Linked DNA regions of Homo sapiens: region 2 is linked to region 1. Evidence: promoter capture Hi-C in 16 types of primary human blood cells and fetal thymus (Javierre and others, 2016). All regions are on one chromosome and are shown on one strand. The core of a region is centred on a gene start or on the middle of the fragment in contact, and the rest is flanking DNA. Distances in the headings are between cores, read along the strand shown. Region 1 holds the start of SNHG17 (small nucleolar RNA host gene 17). Region 2 holds the start of ACTR5 (actin related protein 5).

Region 1 (2,700 bases), core at 13-2,512:
CCAGGGAAGAGAAGGGTACCCAGGACCCTGAGAGCCATCATCACTTCACAGGCAGATTCCATCTGTCCCCACCCAGAGTCCACAGGAAAACAGACTTCTGGTAAAAATGCCTCGGCTGTACATTCAGCCCACCAGTTCTGAGTATCTACACGTGGACAGGCACCGTGGGTTCAAAATCAAGAAAAACAGCCAAGGCCTCTGCCCTCAGAGAGCCTTTGCAGTTTCCCTACTTTACAGAAAGTCAACCTCAGGGGAATGAAGGAACTTAGCTAGCATGTGACCCCAAGCGCAGCCCGTCTCCTAAGTCACGCTTTGCTCTGCACCCGCTTTGCCAGACAGTTCTCAGAACTCAGAACTGGCTGAGCTCATTGACTGTCCCCTCTACTGCGTCCCACAGAAGGGTCCTTCCCCAAGGTGCGCAGAAGCAGCGGCACTTACCCAGGGGCATTCTCACCCCGCGGACAGTGGAAGCCCCTCAGGGGGTGCAGATCAGAGTGCTGCAGGAGAGAGAGGGCGCTGGCTGGTGCGAAGCCGTCCGAGGTGCAGCACAGCCCACAAGGCCTAGGCAAGGAAAAAGCACGGGGAGGGGGCTTTAGTACAAGGCCCGGGGACAGAAGTCCAGACTCTGCCCCACTGGAGTGCTGGCAGCGTCTTCCATTTAAACCACAGCTAACTGGTCTGTAAAATGAAGGTTCTAACACCTACTTTTAAAAGTTATTGAGGGGAAAACGAGTTAACGGTCTCAAGGACGTGGCACAATGACTGGCACTTTGTAGGCAACAGTCAAGTGGCTTTGGAGGCTTCCAATGCCAGGAGTCGGGGGCGGGCAGCTAAAGTCGCCGAGCCCTGTTTCCCGCCATCCAGGGGCACTAAGCCTCCCCGCAGAGTAGCTGCGCGGACAGGGGGTCTGACGACCGCACGTGGCCCGCTCAGCACTGCCGCGGCCAAGGGCGCGACTCACCTGCCAGTGTCTTTCCCGAGGACACGCGAATCCTGGGGGGCTCACTCCGGCAAAGAGGACGAGACACTGCACCAAGGACAGGGCCTGACCTCTCTGGCCGCCTTCCCCGGGGCCTCAGTTTCCCCCGATGGTGAGAGTGGAGCCGACCATGCGCCCTGCTGTGGACTCACCCGGCGCCCTGGCGTCGAGTGGCGGCGGAGACCTGACAGACAGCGTGGGAAAAATCAAGATGTCTGCAGATTTCGAGAGATGGGGTGCGGTGGCGTGCGATGGCGAAGGACGGCGAGGGACGGCGAAGGACTGAGGCCACACGACAAGGAAGCTACGCTCGTTTCGCGCCGGCGGAAATACAGACGAGAGCGCGAGCTGCGGCCTAGAGCGGTAGGAACCGACGCGAGCAGTCCTGCAGCGTCCCCTGGCGGAGCGGAGGCTCAACGCCAGACTCTGGAGGACTTGGGATAATTTTCGAAAACTATCTGGAAGTTTAGAAGTAAACTTCTCCCACTTGCTTTGCTTTTCTGTTTGTTCTGAAGATGTTCCTTGGTCACTGATTCATTATTAATCTGTAGGAATGGCCAATTTTCCATGATAGGAGCTGTTACTACGATGAGGGGACTGTGCTTAGTTTGGACTTCTTTCTGCAAGGGTCCAAAGGCATCTGTCTTTGATTCACCACTGTACTCAGTACCTAGTTCAGTGACTAGCACAGTTGAATGAATGAATTCTACCCCCGCCCCATTCCTTTTTTTCTGAACAATGTCAGACCGAGATGACTGAGTCATGGCCTGAGACTGGAATGTGAGCGTGAGAAGATGAGCCAAGAGAGATGCACAGCGGGTAACTGCTTTGCTAAACTCCAGCCTCAAAGTACACGGGATGGAGGGTGGAAAGAGTCTCTGAAGCAGAAGAGACCTGACCAGACTGGCATCTGAGGAACCTGATCAGATTTGCACAGTGACAGAGACTGTAGACAGATGTCCCATGTTCCCTGCAACATACTGGAGACAATCTTGGGAGGGGACTCATGGCCCACAAATCCTCATAAGCATTGGCACTGCCTGCACCCTGGGCAGGATGTGCCTCTTCGGCCTGAGACAGCCCTGCTACTGACTCTGCCCATGTTCTGGAGTGCAAGCAGCCCACCCTTGGGCCTGATGAGGAGCCCACGCCCCACCCTCCGCCCCGCTCCAGTCAGATTCTTGGTACTCAATAGGTCAGAAGGACAAGAAAATCCAGTCCTGATCTATGCAACCATGAGGGAAATGGGGGTCCCTGAGGTGAGATCTGCTCCATATTTTGTACCTGGGAGAGGCCCATGGGATTCCCAGACTGTGAGAACACTGGGAGTCTCTGTGATGGGGAGGGGCTGTGGGATGCTGCTATGGTTTGGCTGTGACCCCACCTAAATCTCATCTGGAACTGTACTTCCCATAATTCCCACCTGTCGTGGGAGGTAATGGAATCATGGGGGTGGTTACCCCCATGCTGCGGTTCTTCTGATAGTGAGTGAGTTCTCATGAGACCTGATGGTTTTATAAGGGGCTTTACCCACTTTTGCTCTATACTTCTCCTTGCTGCCACCATGTGAAGAAAGACATGTTTGCTTCCACTTCCGCCATGATTGTAAGTTTCCTGAGGCCTCCACAGCCATGCTGAACTGTGAGTCAATTAAACCTCTTTCCTTCATGAATTACCCAGTCTCAGGCAGTTCTTTATAACAGTGTGAGGATGGACTAATA
Region 2 (2,700 bases), core at 103-2,602, 310 kb after region 1:
GATGTGGAGGTTGCAGTGAGCCAAGATCACACCACTGCACTCCAGCCTGGGTGACAGAGCCAGACTCCGTCTTAAAAAAAACAAACAACAACAACAACAAACACTGTTAATAGAGGTTCTTGAGATAAGTTAGGAGTTTCATTTCTCGCTTACAATATCTTTTGTAACTAATTTGATTTTATCTCTCAAACTGAAGTGTTATAGACCTGGTAGAGTAGATTCAAGGCAGCTGCTCTATTCTTTTTCTTCTTTCAAAATGGTTATGGCCAGCATGGGCAACATAGTGAAATCCCTTCTCTACTAAAAATATAAAAATTAGCTGGGCGTGGTGGTGCACGCCTGTAATCTCAGCTACTTAGGAGGCTGAGGCGGGAGAATCACTTGAGTCCAGGAAGTCGAGGCTGCAGTGAGCCGAGATCGCCCCACTGCACAAAAAAAGGTTGTAGTAAAACAACTGCTCTAATTCTTACCCCCTTAGCTAGTGAAAAGATGGAAATGCGACAGGATAGAGCGCGACGAGTGCTTTTAGGGCTAAAACTGAGTGGGTCACACACATGGCCTCCTCTCCCACCCGCTCCTGGCCAGAATTTAGTCACATGAGCGCATCTAGATCGCAGCCAGACGGATGGCCACGTGGGAGTGGGAGGTGATGCCACTAAAAGAGAGGGAATGCTTGGGGAACAATCAGCAGTCTTTTCTCAGGGTTTGAGAAAACACTGTGTCTTAGTGAGAAGACACAGTCTGTGCGAGTTAGTAAAGTGAACAGAACTGAGTAGTCAGCTCCCTAGTCAAGAAATTGAACAGTCGGCAGAGTTTGAGATTTCTTAACGTAAAGGAAGCGTCAAAAGATAAAGGACCCTTCTAGCCAGGACGCAAGACTGAGGGCGAGACAGCCACGCGGAGGCGGGGCCGCCGGCGGTCGAAGGTGCGCGCCCGGCCGACGGTGCGCGCCCGGCCGACGGTGCGCGCCCGGCAATGGGGCGTGGCCAGGCAGAGAGGCGGGGCTCCACCGAGCGCGGCGCTGAAGCTGGCAGCCAGAAAGGGGCGGGGCCTGGCGGCGATAGGCTTTGGGGCGGGGCTTCCAAACCGGGCGTCCCGGCTAGAGTGAAGGGGCGTGGGCACTCATAGGCTATTGGGGGAGAGGTTAAGAAACGTAGAATTTCGCAGCCAGAATGGGTACGTCTCAGCGATCCTGAAAGCAGCCTTGACAGCCAGAGGCGAGTCAAGTGGAAAGGCTGGCCGGGCTTCGAGAAGGGAGGGGGCATCGAGGTACTTAAAGGCCTGAATCGCGCGGCGTGACGTCGGGGGCGCGGTTTCGCGGCGTCTGGGCGGACACTGCGCCGAGGGGCGGGGCTGGACGCGCGCTCCAAGATGGCGGCGAACGTGTTCCCGTTCCGCGACGCCCGTGCCGCACCGGACCCAGTGCTGGAGGCCGGCCCGGTGGCACACGGGCCACTGCCGGTACCGCTGGTGCTGGACAACGGGTCGTTCCAAGTCCGCGCTGGCTGGGCGTGTCCCGGGCAGGACCCAGGTCCCGAGCCGCGCCTGCAGTTCCGCGCGGTGTGCGCCCGCGGTCGTGGCGGGGCACGGGGCGCGTCGGGCCCGCAGGTGGGGAACGCTCTGGGCAGCCTGGAGCCACTGCGCTGGATGCTGCGCTCGCCCTTCGACCGCAACGTGCCGGTCAACCTGGAGCTTCAGGAGTTGCTGCTGGACTACAGCTTCCAGCACCTGGGTGTCTCCTCACAGGTGAAGGGCGGAGTAGGCTGGGCTGGGCTGGGTTTGAGGGGAGGGGTGCGGTCTCGTCTCCGCTCACTCTGCTCTCGGAGAGGTAACAGTCACTTCAGTAGCTCCGATTGTCTTTTAGTCGACCAGATGCTAGGCGCTGTGGGTGTAGCAGCGAATAAAATGCTGCTCCTTGTATCTTGGAGCATACCTTTGGGCATATATGCTTGTTTGTTAAGAAGCCCATTTATTAACAAATACGTATTGAGCACTTACTCTGTGTCAGGCACTTTTTAGGCATTTGGAGTACATGTGTGAACACAAAACTTCCTGTGCTTATGGAGCTGTTAATACTATGGAAAGATATTCTAGTATGAAAAGGCAGACAGTAAACATAGAAATAGTAGATTCTACGCCGTGATAGGAGAGGAGGGAGTTACATTTTTTCAGTAAGATGGTCAGGGTAGGACTCGTGAAGGTGATGTTTGAGCAAGGACTTGAAGGAGGTGATTCAGGTAGCAAGCCATGTGAATATCTGAAGGAAAAACGGTCCAGGCAGAGGGAGCAGCCAGTAAAAAGGCCCCGAGGCAGGAGTGTGCCCTAATCCTAACTGCAAGGCTGCCTGTGTGAGGGGGAGAGTAGTACCTGAAAGAGGATGTCAGAGAGGTAGTGGAGAGGCAGATCACACACCTTATAGGCTTTTACTGAGTGAAATGGGGAGCCATGGCAGGGTGTTGAGCTGAAGAAGGACCTGACTTGTGTTTTAAAAGGATCACTATTACTGCTGTATGGAGAATGAATTGTCTTGGATCATAGGGTGGAAACAGGGACGAGTTAGGAGGCTGTTGGAATAACCCAGGTAAGGGATGATGGTGGCTTAGATGAGGCAGATAGCAGGGAATGTCATTAGAAGCAGTTGGATTCTGGAAATACTTTGAAGATAGAGCCAACACGATTTGCTGACAGTTTGGATGGGAC

Evidence for each region. The method cuts DNA at HindIII sites, captures the fragments that hold promoters and counts their contacts. A CHiCAGO score of 5 or more calls a contact.
Region 2: the fragment with the promoter of ACTR5 here is called in contact with the fragment with the promoter of SNHG17 in region 1 in 7 of 17 cell types (neutrophils, erythroblasts, fetal thymus and 4 more); the score reaches 12.2 in neutrophils.

What each region holds. Positions count from the first base shown.
Region 1 is chr20:38,434,066-38,436,765 of GRCh38, forward strand. SNHG17 (small nucleolar RNA host gene 17) reads right to left here and starts at 1,263. Exons shown (of 8, transcript NR_185934.1): 1 at 962-1,263; 2 at 439-561. LOC124904958 reads left to right here. Exons shown (of 3, transcript XM_047440636.1): 2 at 398-540; 3 at 777-2,651. The coding sequence ends at 1,423. RefSeq lists enhancers at 1,016-1,305, 1,326-1,385. The HindIII fragment of the contact is 24,063 bases long and covers 1-2,700 here.
Region 2 is chr20:38,747,108-38,749,807 of GRCh38, forward strand. It overlaps ACTR5 (actin related protein 5), which reads left to right and starts at 1,353. Exons shown (of 9, transcript NM_024855.4): 1 at 1,353-1,746. The coding sequence starts at 1,372. RefSeq lists silencers at 829-1,098, 1,399-1,588 and an enhancer at 949-1,450. The HindIII fragment of the contact is 9,906 bases long and covers 1-2,700 here.